Regions from separate parts of the Homo sapiens genome. Here all the other regions are linked to region 3. Evidence: promoter capture Hi-C in human tissues and cell types (Jung and others, 2019). All regions are on one chromosome and are shown on one strand. The core of a region is centred on a gene start or on the middle of the fragment in contact, and the rest is flanking DNA. Distances in the headings are between cores, read along the strand shown. Region 1 overlaps ZNF280B (zinc finger protein 280B). Region 2 has its middle 12 kb from the start of MIF-AS1. Region 3 holds the start of RAB36 (RAB36, member RAS oncogene family). Region 4 has its middle 95 kb from the start of ZNF280B. Region 5 holds the start of SLC2A11 (solute carrier family 2 member 11). Region 6 overlaps SMARCB1 (SWI/SNF related BAF chromatin remodeling complex subunit B1). Region 7 has its middle 56 kb from the start of ZNF280B.

The links. The method cuts DNA at HindIII sites, captures the fragments that hold promoters and counts their contacts. A contact is called where the count stands out against the background at its distance.
Region 1: a contact is called between a fragment that was not itself captured here and the fragment with the promoter of RAB36 in region 3, in 2 of the 25 tissues and cell types used here (bladder and mesenchymal stem cells).
Region 2: a contact is called between a fragment that was not itself captured here and the fragment with the promoter of RAB36 in region 3, in 1 of the 25 tissues and cell types used here (dorsolateral prefrontal cortex).
Region 4: a contact is called between a fragment that was not itself captured here and the fragment with the promoter of RAB36 in region 3, in 1 of the 25 tissues and cell types used here (small bowel).
Region 5: the fragment with the promoter of SLC2A11 here is called in contact with the fragment with the promoter of RAB36 in region 3 in 2 of the 25 tissues and cell types used here (IMR-90 fibroblasts and dorsolateral prefrontal cortex).
Region 6: a fragment that was not itself captured here is called in contact with the fragment with the promoter of RAB36 in region 3 in 1 of the 25 tissues and cell types used here (dorsolateral prefrontal cortex).
Region 7: a fragment that was not itself captured here is called in contact with the fragment with the promoter of RAB36 in region 3 in 5 of the 25 tissues and cell types used here (dorsolateral prefrontal cortex, hippocampus, liver and 2 more).

What each region holds. Positions count from the first base shown.
Region 1 is chr22:22,483,608-22,486,454 of GRCh38, forward strand. ZNF280B (zinc finger protein 280B) reads right to left here. Exons shown (of 4, transcript NM_080764.4): 4 at 814-2,847. It also overlaps IGL. Among named protein-coding and RNA genes, the nearest start is that of ZNF280B, 24 kb to the right of the region's middle. The HindIII fragment of the contact is 3,491 bases long and covers 1-2,847 here.
Region 2 is chr22:23,909,902-23,912,861 of GRCh38, forward strand. No RefSeq gene overlaps it. Among named protein-coding and RNA genes, the nearest start is that of MIF-AS1, 12 kb to the left of the region's middle. The HindIII fragment of the contact is 3,077 bases long and covers 1-2,960 here.
Region 3 is chr22:23,144,132-23,146,831 of GRCh38, forward strand. RAB36 (RAB36, member RAS oncogene family) reads left to right here and starts at 1,346. Exons shown (of 11, transcript NM_004914.5): 1 at 1,346-1,420; 2 at 2,474-2,554. The coding sequence starts at 2,486. It also overlaps a transcript of RSPH14 not described here. RefSeq lists a silencer at 1,099-1,168. The HindIII fragment of the contact is 15,551 bases long and covers 1-2,700 here.
Region 4 is chr22:22,412,012-22,415,014 of GRCh38, forward strand. It overlaps IGL. Among named protein-coding and RNA genes, the nearest start is that of ZNF280B, 95 kb to the right of the region's middle. The HindIII fragment of the contact is 9,595 bases long and covers 1-3,003 here.
Region 5 is chr22:23,856,472-23,859,171 of GRCh38, forward strand. It overlaps SLC2A11 (solute carrier family 2 member 11), which reads left to right and starts at 1,404. Exons shown (of 12, transcript NM_001024939.4): 1 at 1,404-1,558. The coding sequence starts at 1,529. The HindIII fragment of the contact is 17,543 bases long and covers 1-2,700 here.
Region 6 is chr22:23,815,131-23,817,944 of GRCh38, forward strand. It overlaps SMARCB1 (SWI/SNF related BAF chromatin remodeling complex subunit B1), which reads left to right. Exons shown (of 9, transcript NM_003073.5): 6 at 1,640-1,806. Among named protein-coding and RNA genes, the nearest start is that of DERL3, 22 kb to the right of the region's middle. RefSeq lists enhancers at 800-1,301, 1,302-1,803. The HindIII fragment of the contact is 6,101 bases long and covers 1-2,814 here.
Region 7 is chr22:22,451,165-22,453,963 of GRCh38, forward strand. It overlaps IGL. Among named protein-coding and RNA genes, the nearest start is that of ZNF280B, 56 kb to the right of the region's middle. The HindIII fragment of the contact is 8,338 bases long and covers 1-2,799 here.

The DNA of each region.
Region 1 (2,847 bases), core at 69-2,568, 660 kb before region 3:
TACCTTTAAGGGCAAATCATTTCTTATTAAAGCCAAGAACAAAGAAGCCCATTAACTCCATCTTAAATATTGTTTAGAAGTTCTGGCTGTAGTGCCGGGCACGGTGGCTCACGCCTGTAATCCCAGCACTTTGGGAGGCCGAGGCAGGTGGATCATGAGGTCAGGAGATCGAGACCATCCTGGCTAACATGGTGAAACCCCGTCTCTTCTAAAAAAAATATAAAAAATTAGCCGGGCGTGGTGGCGGGCGCCTGTAGTCCCGGCTACTTGGGAGGCTGAGGCAGGAGAATGGCGTGAACCCGGGAGGCAGAGTTTGCAGTGAGCCGAGATCAGGGGCCACTGCACTCCAGCCTAGCTGACAGAGCGAGACTCTGTCTCAAAAAAAAAAAAAGTTCTGGTGGTAGCAATAAGGCTAAAAATGAACACAAGTGGCAAAAAGGCAAAGATTATACAGTGGTACTAAATAAAAATTACAAACTAAAAATAGGCCAGGCATGGTGGCTCACTCCTGTAATCCCGGCACTTTGGGAGACCAACGTGGGCGGATCACTTGAGGCTAGGAGTTCAAGACCAGCCTGGCCAACACGATGAAACCTCGTCTCTACGAAAAGTACAAAAATTAGCTGGGCATGGTGGCACACGCCCATAGTACCAGCTGCTAGGAAGAATCACTTGAACTCAGGGGGTGGACATTGCAGTGACCTGGGATCGCGCCACTATACTCCAGCCTGGGTCACAGAGCGAGACTCTGTCTCAAAAAACAAAACAAACGTCCCATTTTACTTATGGTGGAAAAACAATACAGCAACAGCATTTTTTTCACAAAACATTTTATTACTATAATTGATATTTTACTTATAATTTTTGGCAACATTAATAAAATAATAAATTTCACCTGAAAGAACAAGCGAGCAAAATAGACAAGGAAATTCACAAAGGGCAATAACAAAATAGTAATCTTGACATATTCAATATATTTGTAAACAAAACAAAGTGACATTGCCTTAAAAATATATAGAGGTATCAATAGAAAAACAGAGAAAGCTCCTGAAAGAACTCACTATATTAATTTTCATTTGGTTGCAGGCACAGAAATTGACTCAAGCTAGCTCAATTCTAAGACAGAAGCAAAGCCCTTGATGATGATCGCTTTCCAGCTTTTTCATGAAAACCTAGGAAATTTAAATACTTTGAAGAGGAAGAAAAGAGTGGGGAGAGAGTAAAGTGCCTTTAAGAGGAAAAGTAGAAGTTTTTTTTTTTTTTTAAAGGGAGATCTCATTGTCAGTGGCATTTTAAGAGCCTTGAAGCTCAATGAACCAAAGGAAGTGTCAAACAATTAAGTGAGGTAGCAAGCCATGCAGGCCTAGGGGAAGGGCATTCTAAGAAAGACAACAGCATGTGCAAAGTCTTTGGATTGGGAAGAATGTGATTTGCTTAAGGAATAGCAAGGCCAGTGTGTCAAAATAGTGCATCATTGGGGAAAACAGTGGAGAAGCATGACAGAGAATGAAAAAGAGAGGAAGGAGGTAGGCAGGGGCCAGATCACTGGAATCTACAGTTGGCAATTAATGACCATATGTACTCCTTAAGAGCATGCTTTAATGAGACTGCAAACAACAGTGTTGATAATACCAACCAATCACTCAACATACAACTAAAACACTTCATATTTTTACCACAGAAACAGAATACGGGAGGTAAGTATGAAAAGTCTGTAGATCTATTTATACACAGTGGGAGTATCTACCTGAGACAAGAAAAACTGGCACACACACACCCACTTGCACACACATACCCTTTCTTCAACTAAAGAAAGGATTCAGGCTGTAATTTTAGCAAAGTGTCTTAACCCAAGCAACGTAACTGAAAAGACCTAGTATAGTGTTCAAGGTGCAAATCAATCAAATGAGTGTCCGGCAAATAAATACAACAGAATCTATGGATCTAGAGTCAGAAAATTTTCTAAAATGTAGATAATATACTCACAACTTCTTTGTTATCTGTACTGCCTTCTACTCTAAGAGGGATGCTAAGCTCTTAATTATCTCTTCCCGGATTTTTGTGAAAGCTTAGGAAATTTAACTAGATTGAGGAGGGAAGAAAGGAGTGGGGAGAGATAAGGTACCTTTAAAAAGAAATCAAGGAAAAAGGGAGAGATTTCTCCAGACCTATGTATGTCTACAGCCAAGATGGCGGATTCCTTGACTGGTGAAGACAGGCTGCTGGGCACCTTGGTCAGGGGTGGAGGAACAAAGGATGGCACCAGAACACAAGCAGGGAGACAACTCCGGGAGTCCACAGAGGCAGCCAAGACTGCTGATGTTCAGGAACCAATACTCAAAAGGTACTCCAGAATACTGTGAAACAGCCCCTGGGGAGAGCAAGGGAAAAAGATTCACCCATAGTACAGATTAGATAGGATAGATCAGATGAAGGACATTAACTCTAAGTCTTAAAACTTATTGAATTAGAGAGACATTTCTTGCACACTGGTGTGTGTCAGGTAAGACCCAAACAGCATTAGTGTCAAAAAACTGGGAAACTATACATTTAACAGAATAGCTGCAAGCTGTAATACATTCATGTCCAAAGCAAGACATAAAGTTGCAAGCTTCACATGTTCAATTAGGGTAAGATATATATGCACAGAAAAATATAAAGCCATTATGGGTTTAAATTCAGTCAGTCACCCTGGGCTATTTTTGTCCACTGTACCTACTGTTGTTGGGACAGTCCTCATTCCAGCTTAACAGTGGGAAAACTAAATTTAGCCCAGTCCAGGAACTGGACAGACACCACTTGTTTGGCCCTTTTCAGTTAAAACTATGGGTCCAGTACAGTTCAAAT
Region 2 (2,960 bases), core at 172-2,671, 770 kb after region 3:
TATTACAAAATCACTGTCACACGAAAATGTGATCAAAGAGTCTGCAGCCAAGAAATATGGGGGGGACAGAGTGTTTTAAAGGCGAAGGTGTGTCTGTCACTTAGTAAAAATGTCAGGATTCTTTTTTTTCTGGAGTTTGTGGTGTTTGTCGGCTTTTCAAAATTTGTCATTCCTTTTCTTAATCTAAATAATCATTTTATAGAGAAAAAAAATTACTCATCAGTGTTGATGATGCCCTGGTTTTCTGTTCAGCTTTGTTTTCCAATCAACTCTTCACCCAAGACTCAATCCTCCACCCTCCAACTCTTCATCCAAGACTCAATTCACCCAACACTCAATCCTCCACCCTCCAACTCTTCACCCAAGACTCAATCCTCCACCCTCCAACTCTTCACCCAAGACTCAATCCTCCACCCTCCTCCAACTCTTCACCCAAGAGTCAATCCTCCCCTCCCAGTGTTTACTGATCAGCCTCCTATCAGCTATTAATGGGACCTCAAACATTCTCTATGGCTCTGTTCTCACGCAATGCAATCTGCTAATCTCTAGGAACTGCAGACCCCACTTAATGCATTTAAAGTATGTATAATGTGACCCAATAGCTTCTTTATCCCAAGCTTATTGATTCCTATAAGAATCATCATCCTCAAGTCACACATGAGGAAACTGAGGCCAAGGCCAATGCTAAGGCTGATGGAAGTGACAGATGTTGAAGATGACACAGCATGACACGAGGGATGAGGTCAAGGCTATTGATGAGGTCAAGACAGCTGTTGTGCTTTGTCCCAAGGCCATTCCAGTTGGTGACAAAATAACTATAACAGATTCCTGGCCAGGGCTTCTCCCTCACAGCAGCTGCCTCCTACTGGAGTCAGAAATGCCTTGGTTTATATAGTTTCATTCATAGGCTGTCTTAACTCTATTTAAGCAGAAAAGGGCTGAAATGTCTTGCCCAAGATCCCTCAGCTAGTAAGTGACAGATGCAGGTTTCAAATCCAGGTCGCTGGACTCAGGGCAGGGCCAGGGGGAATGAGGGCAAACAGACTGGCAGCTGATCAAACTGACACTGCCTTCCTGGTAAAGGGGACAGTGAGGAGAAATTGACAATAGCAGGAGGCTCTGACCACAACAGGCTGCCTCCAGTCTCTTCTCTCACCAGTGGCCCCCAAAGCCACGTGAGTTGGGCTTTCTGACCACACTTTATTGCATTTGCAGACCCTACATGCTTTAAACACACTTTTAGTATCTCACTGGGTCTCTAACAACCCCAGGAGTGGGCAGGGCAATAATTATTTCACAGTTGACAAAGCAGCTTCACGAAAACATTGGGAGCTCAATAACTTCCCTATTGGGATGCACCCCCAGGAGCTGTTCAGTTAATGTCATAGCAGGTTCAGGGAATGGGCTTAAACCCCAAGATATCCTACACCATTTTGTACACAGCAGGTTCTGTAGGGAGAAAACCAACAAGGTCTTCCCGGAGGGAATGGGCTTAAACCACAAGATATCCTATACCATTTTGTAAGCCTCCCTGTGATCATTTCCCATCCAAGTACTAACCAGGCCAGACCCTGCTTAGCTTCTGAGATCAGACGAGATTGGGCGTGTTCAGGGTGGTATGTGAAAGATTCTCCCCGGGGCCTGAAAGTTTGGGGGGATGAATAACTCCTCCCTTCTCAGGCCCAGTCCCAAGGCACAAGACCACTTGTGCTAGCAGCGTGTGTCAGCAAGATAGCAGAAGCAGGAAGAGAGCTGGCCAGGAGACACGTACCCCTGAAGATCAAGAGAGAGGCCATCTGGGTACCATGTAGCAGTTACATCAGACTGGGACACTTCCTGTTTACAGGAGACTATAAAACCCCTGCCCCGTCCTCACCTGGGGCTGACGCCATTTTAGGCCTCAGCCCATCTGCACCCAGGTGCTCATTAAAACAGCGTGTTGCTCCACACTGCCTTGTGTTCTTTGCTGGCAAGCTCTCGGGGTTCGAACCAACACAAGAGCCTTACAGTATGGCCGCAGATGTCTCCCAACATTTCACAGAACCTGGTCAGAATAAAACATTCCATGGGGGTTCAGGTCATAAAAAAATACTGCCTAACCACCTAACCACAGGAACATCTCTATTACATCCTGCTGGATGAAGGGCCCAAGGAACATCTTCAACATCCTGCAGGGGAGCAAGCTATACTGCCCCTTCTCCCCCGGTCCAGACCCATAACTGACAGAGCAGGAGCACTGCCATCTTGAACAAATACCACCATTCTAAGTTCCCCCTTCATTAAAAGCCGCCTAAATCCAGCCCCAAAACATCAGCCTAATGGCTAATGTCAGCATAACCAGAAATATTCCAACCCTAAGATAAACCCCTCTGACCAGAAACATGCCAACCCCGAGACAGCCTCCCTTCCGACCAGAGACATTCCAACCCCGCAATAAACTTTCCCTCACACAGAAACATTCGGAACCTACGATAAGACCCCTTCCAAAACCCTTAAATATCCTTAGTCTGTAACAGAAGTTAGTCTGAGCTAACTCGGCCAGAAGCCCCTCTCAAGTTTATTTTCTAAAATAAACCTGTCCTTGTTGACTGCCCAGCCACCCTTCGTGTTGCTTTCCTCTTCCTTATAGTAAATGTCCCAGTCTGTAAGTGGGACTCGTGCTCTGAGACTAAGCTGGTCCCCCCTCCACAGGTTTGTGCTGGCAATAAACCTGTGTTGCTGTTAAGCTGCCAACTCTTTAACCCTCACCTTCCCTTCAAAACCTAACAAAGATGAATGAGGCATGAACATGAAGACAGAGGGTCAAACCCAAAGAGCAGATTCCGTGAGAAGTCTCCCTATTGACAAGGGTTACTAAGGATGGGGTCTTCTCTGGACCCCCTAGTCTTAGACTTAGTCCACCACATCCAGAAGCCCTTGAAATAAGATTGCAGTGCTTCTGGCATAGCCAAAGACATAGA
Region 3 (2,700 bases), core at 96-2,595:
GGAGTTCAGGGTGATCTCTAGCTCCTGCCAAATCCCCAAATCCAAATTAGTAAGTGACCCCACAGCTTAATCTTCCCTTCTCCTAAATCCCATTGGCACACTCCCTTCCCCTAATTCTCTATTTACTTCTCTGCTTCCCGCAGTGGACTCCAATTTCCCTGAGGGTGGACACCATGTCCGTTCTCTTTCCTTGTCTCCCCAGTGCTAGGCATATACCAGGAAGCTTTCAGTACATGTAGGACAAATGAATAGTTAATGGACTTGAATCAAGCTTTACAGTATAAAAGCACTTTCACCATCTCAGGTGATCCATTGAAATAGATAGTTGCGTTTATTTTATAGTTGAGTAAACTGAGGTGCGGAAGGTGGAACAACTCACCTAAGTTCACCCCCTAAGCCTCAACCTTAGCAGTGAAACTCACTAAAAGACATTAAACAGAGCCAGGTGTGGTGGCCCTTGCCTGTAGTCCCAAGGACTGGGGAGGCTGAGGCGGGAGGATTCCTTGAGCCTAGGAGTTCGAGTCCAGCCTGGACAACATAGCAAGACTCCATCTCTTTAAAAAAAAAAAAAAAAGACATCAAACACCAGCCTCCAGCACACTTAGCTTTGAATTGAAGATGACTGAGTTAGATCTGTGTACCAAGGCTTCCATATTGTGATGCAGAAAAGTTAAGGAGCTGAATTAAGTAGGTTCTCAAACTGAACCCCGGACTTCGAAGCTGGTTCCACGGTTTTATAAGGGCCACAAGAGGCCATCTAGCCCAAAACAGCTAACTTTCCAAACCGAAACTAGTTCAGAGGAAATCACTGACTCAGGTCAGCTTTTTATTAAGGAAATTAATTTTGTACCGTGAGCTCTAGAAGCCAGGCATATGATATTCAGACAGCACTGGATTCAGAACTATGCAGACTAAGGTCAGTAGATGGTAGGCAGGTCTATCTTCTGCAGCTGCAGGGTGCTTGACTCCAATTAAACATCAATACCACATCAGGAGCTCTTATGCCATAACCGCCCAACCTCTCCCAGCCGAGCTGATCACCAGAACCTGCGCGAATCTCTCCACGGTCAGCCCCACCCAGGGCTCAGGCTCCGCCCCCGGGCCTCCATAGCCCCGCCCACCGCCCACCCATCCAGCACCGCCCTTGTTGTCATGGTGATCTCCGGCTCTCCAGGGTGTCCAGGAGTCTCTCTGCTGCCAGCCCCGCCCAGACTCCAGGCAGGTTCTCGTTGCTATGGTGATCGCCGGTGCAAGCTGGATGCTTGGACGCGCCGCTGCCAGTCCAACGCAGACCCCGCCCACGACGTCGACGATTCGTGTAGCCCGCAGGTCCCGCGTGGCTCTCGTTGCCATGGTGATCGCCGCCGCTGGCTCAGGCGGACCAGGCCGCGCGGAGCCCCAGCTTTCACAGCCATCGCTGGTGAGTCAGCTCGCCCACTCTGTCCGACCCTCCCGGTCACCCAACCCCGTGCTGGCACATCCCGAGGCCAGGGCCGCGAGGGCACAGCGTCCGCGCCCACTTCCCGCCCCTATAACTTGAAAGCGGCCTGCGGCCCCGGGGCGTCCTCATTTCCGGAGCGCAAACTCTGGGCCAGGCCCGCGCTGGTTGTGGAGGAGAGCCAGGTCAGATGCGGGAAGACAACCGGACTCCGCCAGGACCACCCCAGCCCAGCCTGGAGAGGAGTCCGGACAGAAAAAGGAGACAGAGGGGCTGTTGAGGAGGCTCGAGGAGTCAGAGGCCTGGTGAAGTGAGGGTTTTCAGGGAAAAGGCCTAGTTGGCTGAAAGTTAAGGCCCCCAGGCCCACCTAGAGCCTTCGTCCTTTGCAGACTGGGAGCAGGAGACCCCTCCCCACTCTACTTCCACTGCCTGAGCTGTGCCATGCCTCACAGCCCAGTAAGGTAAGCTCAGAGGGGAGCTCCTCCTTGGTAGACACCTGTCAAGGGGAGACCCAGGTCTTCTGACTCCCAGGCAGGGTGGGGCAGGCCTGGTTCCCCCATACCATGCTGCCTGCTGTATGCAGATTGAGAGAAATGGCCTCTGCCCCATATTCCTGACAGAGAGGGAAGCCTGGATCTGGTTTTATTTATAATTCTTGAGACAAGGTCTTACTCTATCACCCAGGCTGGAGTGCAGTGGCACCTTCACGGTTCACTGCACCCTTGACCTCCCAGGCTCAAGCATTCCTCCCACCTTCCTCCCAAGTAGCTGGGACTGCAGGCACAGGCCACCATGCCCTGCTAATTTTTTTGGTTTTTTTTTGTAGAGACTGAGGTTTCACTTTGTTGCCCAGGCTGGTCTCAACCTCCTGGGCCCAAGTGATCCTCCCACCTTGGCCTCCCAAAGTGCTGGGATTACAGGCATGAGCCACTGCACCCAGCCTGGATCTGATGAAAAGTTAGGTGGAAACTCATGGGTGAATCCCCAGGTATTTGCACAGCTCCTTAACTGTCTTTCTCCTGGTTGGGTCCACAGGACTGTGGAAGAATGAGGTCCTCCCTGACACCTTTGGGGCCCCCTGTGAGCCGCGACCGTGTCATCGCCAGCTTCCCTAAGGTAGAGAGTCATTACGTCTGCAGTGCTCTCCTGGCCCTGCAGCCACATCAGCTCTCCCCACTCTACACTCATGCCTAGAAGTAAAGCAGGTGAATCAAGGAGGTCTGTCCATTGTCAGATTTACCTTGAGGAGCTGGGAGACTGGT
Region 4 (3,003 bases), core at 395-2,894, 730 kb before region 3:
CATCCATGCCAGCATCAATTATTTTAATTTTTTTATTATGCCCATTCTTGAGGGAGTAAGGTGGTATTGCATTGTGACTTTGATTTTCATTTCTCTAATCGTTAGTGATCTTGAGCATTTTGCCATATGCTTGTTAGCCATTTGTATATCTTCTTTTGAGAATTGTCTATTCATGTCTTTAGCCCACTTTTTGATGAGATTGTTTGTTTTTTTCTTGCTGATTAGTTTGAGTTCTTTGTAGATTCTGGATATTAATACTTTATTAGATGTATAGATTGGGAAGATTTTCTTTCACTCTGTGGGTTGTCAGTTAACTCTGCTGACTGTTTATTTTGCTGTGCAGAGGCTATTTCATTTAATTCAGTCCCATCTATTTATCTTCGTTTTTAATGCATTTCATTTTGGATTCTTGGTTATAAAGTCTTTGCTTAAGCCAATTTCTTCTAGAATTTCTAAGGTTTCATGTCTTAGATTTAAGTCTTTGACCAATCTTGTGTTAGTTTTGTATAAGATGAGAGATGAAGATCCATTTTCATTCTTCTACGTGTGACTTGCCTATTATCTCAGCACCATTTGTTGAATAGCGTCTCCTTTTCCCACTTTATGTTTTTGTTTGCTTTGTCAAAGATCAGTTAACTCTAAGTATTTTGCTTCATTTCTGCATTCTCTATTCTGTTACATCGGTCTATGTGCCTATTTTTATACCAGTACCATGCTGTTTTGGTCATTATGGCTTTATAGCATAGTTTGAAGTCAGGTAATGTGATGCTTCCAGATTTGTTATTTTTGTGTAGACTTGTTTTGGCTACCGGGGCTCTTTCTTGGTTTCATATGAATTTTAGTTCTATGAAGTTCTGTGAAGAATGATGGTGGTATTTTGATGGAAATTGTATTAAACTTGTAGATTGTTTTGGCAGTATGGTCATTTTCACAATATTCATTCTATACATCCATGAGCATAAAATGTATTTCCATTTGTGTCATCTGTGACTTCTTTCAGCAGTGTTTTGCAGCTTTCCTGGTAGAGGTCTTTCACTTTCTTGGTTAGGTATATTTCTAAGTATTTTAGTTTTTTGGCAGCTATTGTAAAAGGGGTTGAGTTCTTGCTTTGATTCTCAGCTTGGTTGCTGTCGTTGTATAGCACTGCTACTGATTTGTGTCCTTTAATTTTGTATCCTAAAACTTGCTGAATACTTTCACTAGTGCTAGAAGCATTTGGGGTGAGTCTTCAGGGTTTTCTATGTATACAATCATATTATCAGCAAACAGTGACAGTTTGACTTCCTCCTTATCAGTTTGGATATCCCTGATTTCTTTCTCTTGTCTGATTGCTCTGGCTAAGACTTCCAGTACTACGTTGAATAGAAGTGGTGAAAGTGGGCATCCTTTTGTTGTTCCATTTCTCAGGGGAAATGCTTTTAACTTTTCCCCATTGAGTATAATGTTGGCTGTGGGTTTGCCATAGATGGCTTTTGTTGCCATAAGGTATGGTCCCTTCTATGCTGATTTTGCCAAGTTTGAATCATAAAGGATGCTGGATTTCGTTAGATGCCTTTTCTGCATCTATTAAGATAATCATGTGATTTTGTGTTTTAATTCTGTTTATATGGTGTATCACATTTATCAACTTGTGGATGTTAAACCATCTCTGCATTTCTGGTATAAAAGCAATTTGATCATGGTAGATTATCTTTAAGACAGCTGTTGGATTTGGGTAGCTAGTATTTTGTTGAGGATTTTTGCATCTAGATTCATCAGAAATATTGGTCTGTAGTTTATTTTTGTTATGTCCTCCCTGGTTTTGGTATCAGAATGATACTGTCTTCACAGAATGATTTAGAAAGGATTCCCATTTTCTCTATGCTGTTGAATAGAGTCAGAAGGATTGGTACCAGTTCTTCTTTGAATATCTAATAGAATTCAGCTGTGAATCCATCTGGTCCTGGATTTTTTGTTGTTTGCAATTTTTTTTATTACCATTTCAATCTAGCTGCTTGTTATTGGTCTGTTCAGAGTTTCTACATCTTCCTGGTTTAACCTAGTAGTGTTGTATATTTCCAGGAGTTCATCCATCTCCTTTAAGATTTCTAGTTTATGTACATAAAAGAGTTCATAGTAGCCTTTAATGATCTTTTGTATTTCTGTGGTATCAATAGTAATATCTCCCGTTTCATTTCTAATTGAGCTTATGTGGGTCTTCTCTCTTCTTTTCTTGGTTAATCTCGTTAATGGTCTGCCAATTTTATTTATCTTTTCAAAGAACCAGCTTTTTGTTTCATTTATCTTTTGTATTTTTTTTTGTTTTGACTTCATTTAGTTCTGCTCTGATCTTCATTATTTCTTTTCTTTTCCTGGGTTTGGGTTTGGATTGTTGTGGTTTCTCCAGTTCTGTGAGGGGTGACCTTAGATTTTCTACTTGTGCTCTTTCAGACTTTTTGATGTAGGTATTTAATGCTATAAACTGTCCTTTAAGCACCACTTTTGCTGTATCCCAGAGCTTTTGACAGGTTGCATTAAGATTTAGAACAATTGCAATCTTACTATCAATCAACAGCTTTTTAATTCCTGAGGATGTGACCTCATTTAATCCTGACAATAGCTTTATTATTGCTTTTCAGGCAGTAGACCGTGATTGAAGAGGTAATGCTTTGTGGCCTGGAGGTAAGGTTCTAAAATTTATCAAATATTAAATTGGTGCACAAGTAATTGCAGGTTTTACAAATAAAAGTAATGGCAAAACCCACAAGGACTTGTGCACCAATGTGATATAAACACTGGAGGTCAGTTAAATTTGAATTCAGTAAAAACAATGATAAAGAATCTGTATGTGTATCACCCACACAGTATTGTTCAATTGTAATACAAACAACTGGGTGCCCTGCATTTTATCGGGAAACTCCACACAGGGTTCGCAGCTTGAAAGAGGCAGAGCTGTGGCAGGCCTGCCCTTCCTGATGCCAGGTCTAGGTGCTTAACGTCAAAGACAGAGCTTCTCTAAGAGAG
Region 5 (2,700 bases), core at 154-2,653, 710 kb after region 3:
TTAAAGGAGAATACCCATATGATCATCTTAATAGATGCACGAAAAGCATGCAATAAAATACCTATTTATTATAACTGCTAATATTTTGTGTTTTTCCTTAAAAATGCAGTGTTTTTAGGAATTAAAGTTCAGAGCAGCAAAAGTCAAACAAAAACCAAGTCTGAGCAATAGAGCTACTACAGTGCCCATCACAGTGTCTGCTCAGGTGACTTCTTAAGGTCATGTCCAGCTCTATGTTTCTGTGACCACAAATAGCATCTTTGGCAAGTCTAGTTTCAGTTGGTCTTTGTCCAGCTCCTGGATTCCTCCATGCAGGGCCTGAGAAGCCCTGAGGGATAAAAGATTAATCCGGTTCAGTGGACTCTGTGGTTCCTCAACTCCAAGTGCCCCCAGCATAAGTCGGACCTGCCTCTCACGCAATGGATCCCCTGGCGGCAACCCGAGACCGGTTCTCCTACCCGCATTCCGCCAAGTCTCTCGCTCTGCCCAGGACGCACAGATGAGAGCGCTCCGAAGACTGGTGGGTCTATCTTTCGGTCTTTCCTAATTTTCCCGTCCTCTGGGGAAAGGTCGGGGATACCTGAACCAAAGTGTGTGTGTGTGGGGGGGGGGGGGTGTAGGTGGGGCGTGCATAGATGTGCACAACCAAGGGCTTGGCCCTCCGGAGAACGCCCAGGGGCAGTGGCCTCCGAGGTTCTGGCGGCCGGCAGTGGCGACCGGCGCAGGGAATCGCGCAGGGTTGCGGCTGAGGTCAGACCAGCGAGAGACAGAGACCCGCAGACATTTAGTCCAGAGACTGTAGCAAAGGAGGGGGACGAGGGGCCAGAGCCGGAATTTCGGGGGAGGACTTGGGAGCGCGGCGACCAGAGTCGCTTGCTGGCACTTGCGAGGGCGAATGCAGGGGCTTGGCCGAGATGACCTTGGACCAGAGCTCCCTTCCGGCCTGCAGAGATGAGCTTGGGGCTTAGCCGAGTAAGGAGTGAGCGGCTTTTCAGCCTCAGTGCTGCGGCAGAGGCGGATGGAGGATGAACTGGAGCCGTCCTTACGGCCTCGGACGCAGGTGAGCTCCCAGCGGCGGCGACAAACCCCGCGGCGGTGACCCCAAACCCCCCCCCCGCGGCGGCGACTCCCCCCCAACACGCTGGGGCGAACTCCCCAGCACCCCCAGCCCTTCTTAAAAACGCTGAGTCCGCGCATGCGCCTCAGGCGCCCTCCGCGACACTCTAGCGGCTCTGCGCTTCACTGCGCCTGAGCTTGAGTCTCAGGCCTTAGTCCCGGCCATCGTTTAGCGTTGCGCGAACCCTCAGCTGGTGCGGCCGCTCTCAATACCCACTGCGCTTGCGCTACAGCTTCGTCTCGACGGGTTTGCTCCTCTCAAACGCTCACTGCGCGTGCGCTAGCGCCTCTTTCACCACTGGGCGCTGCGCGCTGCCCTTCCCTCCGCGCACAGGCTGCCGGCTCACCGCTTGCTAATGGCAGCCGGGGTCTCCCTGGGACAGCAAGACCTCCGCTCAGGCCCCTCTTTCGAATGCTCCACGCCCTCCTGCGATCTAGAATGGTATGAATTCTCATACTTGCCCAGACCAGGCGTTTCAGATGAGGGATTGCGGACCTGAGTGAACTGCGCAGGTGCAGCCACCTGGGAGGCTTAACTAAGTCGTCAAATGTTCAAAAATATCGTGCTTGTATGTACAGTGGCGTTAGGTGCTAGGCTCAGATGTGCATAGGCAGGTGTTTACGCCCAGGGTCGGCCTGTGGGCCAGAGCAAGGTTGCTGGACCCTGGCATCCCAGCCCCCAGAGATGCTAAATCCTCTGCCGATCAGCCCTGACCTCAGAGGCAGTAAGCCCTCCGAGCGCTGCAATCCTGACTGCTCGCCCCCTCCCGAGACTGTTTCCCACCCCCGCCTCTTTCCTCCTCATGCTCCCTCAGCTCTGACCTGACGTCCTGCCTCACAGAGGGAAAGGGCGCAGCCAGAGGAGAGCGCCCGCACTGCACTGCCCACCGCTTCTAGGGGTTCCTTCCCAATCTGGACTGATTTCTTTAGGTATTTGCATGGCACATTCCCTCACCTCCTTTGTCTTGATTTGCACTTGTATTCCTTGACAGCCTTATTTAAAATAGCACCAACTAAGGTGGGAGGATCGCCCAGGAGTTCGAAGCTGCAGGGATCTAATAGGATCTCACCACTGCACTCCAGCGTGGGCGACGTAGCGAGACCTTGTCTCTAAAAAATAAAAATAAAATAAAATAAAATAAAATAGCACCACCTGGTCCAAACACTTCCTACGCCCCTTCACTGCTTTAAGTCTCTGTAGCACCAGCTGATGTACTATATATTTTGCTTGTTCATTTTGCGATTGCTTGTCTTTCTCTGCTGGAAGGAAAGCTCTGACAGCTCATGGATTTTGTCTGTTGTTCACTGCTGTATCCCAACACCTAGAACAGTAGGATTATTGACCATAATAGGGAGGCAATAAATCTTTGTTTGCTGAATTAATGGTCCCTATCGTAGCTAATGTCTGAATGCTTACCATGACCAGGCACGGTATAGGCAATCTCCATGCATGATCTCATTGAATTCAACGATTTCCTGTAGTCTTAGAGACCTGTCAATATCTCCTGCTACATGAGCTCAGCTGCCATCAAGCACTGTGTTCGCTGCTTCCTTCACATCTGCTGTCTTAAGGGAGCTCTCACT
Region 6 (2,814 bases), core at 70-2,569, 670 kb after region 3:
ATCAGATGCTGGCGAGGATGTGGAGGAACTGGGTCACTCACAAGCTGCTGATGGGAATGTAAAGTGGCTGGAAAACTGCCCTAGAAAACAGTGTGGCAATTTCTGTTAAAAACTAAACATGCGGCCAGGCGTGGTGGCTCACACCTGTAATCCCAGCACTTTGGGAGGCCGAGGCGGGCGGATCACGAGGTCAGGAGATCGAGACCATCCTGGTTAACATGGTGAAACCCTGTCTCTTCTAAAAATACAAAAAATTAGCTGGGCGTGGTGGTGGCTGCTTGTAGTCCCAGCTACTCGGGAGGCTGAAGCAGGAGAATGGCGTGAACCCGGGAGGCGGAGCTTGCAGTGAGCCGATATAGCGCCACTGCACTCCATCCTGGGCGACAGAGCGAGACTCCGTCTCAAAACAAACAAAAAACTAAACATGCAACCAGTGTACCTTGAGCATTTATCCTGGAGAAATGAAGACATGTTTATACAATAGCCTACACGTGGATGTTCATAGCAGCTTTATTTATAATAGCGGGAAACTGGAAATGATCTAGATAGCCTTCAGTGAGTGAATAGTTAAAGTGAGGCCCCTTCGTACCACAGAATGTCACTTGGCAGTAAAAGGAAGTGACAATCTGGATGAATCACTGGATACAGATACAGTCCTCTATCTTGTCTTTTTTGGAGGAAACTGGGCGCAGTGTGCATGGAATTTCTCTGTGTTGTTTCTTGCATCTGTACATGAATCTACAATTACTTAAAAATTTTAAAATGCTCTGGGCAGTGTATTCACTGGGTGTTTACCCCGTGCACCTGAGGTTCCTGCTGTTGCTGCCCCGCAGGCTGTTAGGATGCTGGTCTCCAGCGTGTCTTTAGGGCAGGGAGGAGATAGTGGGGCTGTGGTCTGTTAGGCCGACCTGCTTCTTGATGATGGAATCCTACTGTCTGCTCTGAGGCAATTTTTCTTGGCTTTTTCAGCTTATTCCTGCAAGGCGTCTTGTCAGTACGGTCTGGGTGGAGCAGGGAGAGAATGTTGACTGAGAGGACCTTGCTGAGGTCTGGCTGGCCACAGATGGTCCCTGTGAGCTCCCATCTGGTACAATTCCTTTTCCAGGATCCGGGATCTGTAGGGACCTCCACGCTTGTGACCTTGTTGAGGCCCTGCTGCTGCTACTGCAGTCACAGGCCTGGAAATCGCTGTGGCTTGGCACAGTGTGTTTTGCTCACATGAGGCCTGGTATTGGGCCAGCCTCTGTGCCATCACGTCTGCCACCAGTTCAGCACAGAGGGGAGTAGAGAGATGGCACGCAAGCTTTGATGTGCCTTTGCTGGCCTCGCCTGGATCATCTCATTAGTTGGGATAATCTCATGCGCCCACCCAGCTATGAGTGGAATGAGGGAAGTGTTTATGGCCATGACCACCCCCAGGGCATGGAGCAGGAGGTCTGTGCAGGATGAGGGCTGGGGGCCTGCTAGTCATGTGCTTCCTCCTTCCACTCCCAGTTTCCAGGAAGGCCACCCCCAGTGCCCTGGTTGTCCTCTCCTGCATCCGGAGATGTTTGGCTTCAAAGAAGAAGGGGTGAGGGAGGCCGGTCCATGCCCAAGCATGGTGCAATCTCTTGGCATCCCTTCCCTCTCCTGATTTCAGAGAAGTTGATGACGCCTGAGATGTTTTCAGAAATCCTCTGTGACGATCTGGATTTGAACCCGCTGACGTTTGTGCCAGCCATCGCCTCTGCCATCAGACAGCAGATCGAGTCCTACCCCACGGACAGCATCCTGGAGGACCAGTCAGACCAGCGCGTCATCATCAAGGTAGGTGACTTCTCACCCAGCACTGGAGCCTTCCTGGCCCTCAGGGTGGGTGTCATCATGGAGCACTGAGGGTACACCAAGGCCTCAGCAGAAGCCCGTCTTTGGGTTCCATATCATCTGGAAAGTCATAACACCTGGCTTTGCTCCCTGCAATCCCCCAGGAAGGGCATAGGCTGAGTTCTCATAGTAAAGTGTTATATTCCGGACACATTCAGGGGGTGTCTCTGAGGCACTGCCAGGCTCTGAGCAAAGCCCGGAGGTCTAGAGGAGGTGAAGGCAGCTGATTGGCTGGGCCAGGCTGAGTGCTCCAGGGGGGCCTAGTAACCCAATAAGATGCTGCCTTAGTGGCCATATTACAGGTGAAGAGGTGGGCACGTGGAGAGCTGAGATCACCTGCGGAAGTTGCAAACTGGCCAGTTGAGAAATGGTGAGGCTGGCGATTGGGCGCAGGCCTGCACCCTGCAGAGCCTATAGCATAATCCTTGCTGTGCTGAGCCGCCACTGCCAGACTATGCCTTGAGGGTGAGGGGAGCTTTGAAAATAGGAAGATATGAGAAGTAGGTGAAATTGGCACATGTGATGACCCTAAAAAGGTCAGTGGTTTGGTTAGATCTGATGCTGTGCCTTTGGCTTCCATTTTAGGAAAACATTGATGTATAAAAATAAGAGCCATGTTACAAAGGGTTCCTGAAAATAGTCTTTGGGGTCGAGGAGCCTCGGGAGGGATGCCTCCTGTGACTGAGGGATGCCTCTGCCCCGTGCACCAGATGGAGCCTGGGCCGACTTCTTCCCACTGTGGTTCTCCGTGGCACTTTACTAAGATTTTGGAAAATAACGTGGGGGAATCACCAGCAACTTCCTCTGTGGTCCCCCAAGTAACAAACAACTAAATATCTTATTTAGTTAGTCAAGACAGTCTCACTGTGTCGCCCAGGCTGGAGTGCAGTGGCTCGATCTTGACTCATTGCAACCTCCACCTCCCGGGTTCAAGCAATTCTCCTGTCTCAG
Region 7 (2,799 bases), core at 14-2,513, 690 kb before region 3:
GATGCATTCTCTCATTTTTGTTGTCAATATTTTCACAATGGTTATCAAACCTTGTGCTCATTCCTCTGGTTTTATACAGCTTTTTGCTCTGTCATTTAATGTTAATGTAAGTAGTTTTCCATTTATTTGAAAGGGTAAAATATTTGAGTAGTTGCTAATTTTATTTTTATTTGAATACCAATGAAAAATTATAATTTGGGGTAATTCAAATTGCTTGTCAGACAAAGATGTGACATTGGGCTATTATTAAAATGCTCCTGGTCTTCTCTGTGGATTTAGTGAAGTCAAACAAAATGCCTGCAATTTTCTATGGAAAGCCTTGAGTACATTATGCCTGACTTCACAATGCAGAAAATAGAGAAACAAGAATTTCCTGCTCATGTTTGCTGGAGCATAATAGATTCAGGTACGAGGAACAACTTATATTGAAAACTACGTCAATGTCTCCATGCATGTGTTAGAACAGTACTTCCCAAACTCTATTGTGCATACAAATTATCTGGGGATTTTATAAAATGCAGATTCTTATTCAGTGGGTCTGGAGTGAGGACACAATCTCTGCATTTCTCACATGTGCCTGCCACACAAAATCCACATATATATTTGAATAATAACAAGTCCAGCCAGCAGTGGAGGCTCATATGTGTAATCTTAGCACTTTGGGAAGCTGAGGCAAAAAGATTACTCGAAGCCAGGAGTTTGAAACCAGCCAAGAGCAACATAGCAAGATATTTTCTCTATAGTTTTTTTTAAATAATAAAAAATGAATTAGCCAGGCATAGTGCTGTATGCTTGTAGCCCTAAGTACTAAGGAGGCTGAGGCAGGAGGAGAGCTTCAGCCCAGGAGTTCAAACCTGCAGTGAGCTATGATCATGCCACTGCACTTGAGCCTGGGTAACAGAGTGAGACCTTGTCTCTAATAATAATAAGAAAAACGACAACATATCCATAAGACTAGTATCAAATAAGGAGAATCCTTGGCAGGCAAGAACCTAGGAGAAATCTCTGACATAGGGAATTTACCAGCTTGCATGATAGAAGAACCCCACACTCCATGGAGGGAGATGACCAGGGAGGACAGCTGCAAAGCTAGGAAAGGCTCCCCTTTCTTTGAGAGCAAAAACAAAAGCAAACAAACAACAAACCTGACCTTCCCTCTGGCTCCTGTCCAACACTCTTACTGGCTCCTCCTTCAGCCTTTCCTATAATGTGGCCCATCCTTACCCTCTCCCCTTCCACATCTCTGATTCCTGAATTCCCTTCTTTGTTCTCTTTCCCTTTGCTACCACCCACTTCTCCCCTCTAATCTCTTGAGTTAATTATCAAGGGCTTTATAACAGGAAACTCATTGGCATTTTTTCTGCATCTGTCCTTGAAGTTGACACTCATACTTTTATCTCTTTCTTGAACCTCTCAGATATGCTTAGAACTGAAGAAGCCCGAAGTTGATTGATTCTGTTTTTTCACCTCAGCCAGCACCTTCTTCTTCTCCTTTCCAGGAGAATCTGTATTTCTCTGTATTTCCAGAATTCTCTGTATTTCCAGTGAATCTGTCAGACACAGTAAGTACCTCTTCAAAGGTTTAATTTCTGACTTCATTGTTCTTTGTTCTCGAGATGAACTTCCTTGTCCCTTCTCCTAAGCTACCTGCTCTGTAAACAACTTCTCCCACCAGTCCCAATCTGTAACTCACATCTCCTCCTTATTTAGAAAGAGTCCTCTTTTACTCCTTGCTACCCATTCTGTAAACTGCCCCTCCCACAAAACTACCCTTCCCACATTTGCCACGCCCTGACATGCCCAAACATACCTTGTACCATAATGGACTGCCTCTCCCTTCCCACCTAATTAGCCATACTCAATTTTAAACAGTAGCCAATCAGGTCAGTTTAGATTGTGTGGTCCAACTCCAGCCAATGGGGACAGGACACAGAAGCAGGGACTAACCACGTTAGGGATGAAAACCCCTTCCCTCCTTTGTTTGGTGTGCTCTTGCAGTGGTCAGAAGTGCAAGCGGCACTCTTCTGTAGAAATAAGTTTGCCTTGCTGAGAAATATTTTGTCTGAGTGCTCATTTTCCTTGCGACTCTGAGCTCTTGTTTCTAACAAAATAGGGGGTCATCTGGGATTCCCATTCTCCTCTGAGGAAGGGCCTCTGATCACCTCTTAGGAGGAGATGCATCCCACTGCTTCATTGCAGTGGCCTCAGGGGTAAGGAATCAGGACCCACCCAGCATGATAAATAAACCCAGACTCTCAGCAACACAGGAAGAAAAGGCCTACAGTTACCGTGGCGACCAGGTAACTGTGCACAGACAAAGGTAAGAAAAACCACTAGGGCAGTGAAGTACTTCCTTAGTGGTCAGGACATTCTGCAGGTTGAAAATGTGTGAATGAGATGCACAATTAAGTGCAAAGTGAGTGTGGAGTAAAGTAAAGGGTGCAAGAAATCTCTAGTAAGAGAGGTTGAGCCCCAGGGAAATGGTGCAAGAAATCTCTAGTAGGAGAGGTTGAGCCCCACGCACACTCAGCAGGGAAAGGAGAGCGAGAAACCTCCAGTAGCGGGGATTGAGCCTCCAGGGAAAAGGGTGCAAGAAATCTTTAATACGAGAGATTGAGCCCCCATTAACCTCCAAGACGGGAGTGCAAGAAATCTCTAATATGAGAGATATGAGCCCCCATTAACTTCCAGGATATGAAATACCCTAGTAAAACAAGAACTACAAAGGGCAAAGGAGATAACACAATTCCCTCTGATAGCCTTCTAGGTCTCATGTTAAAATATTGGAGGGATAATGAA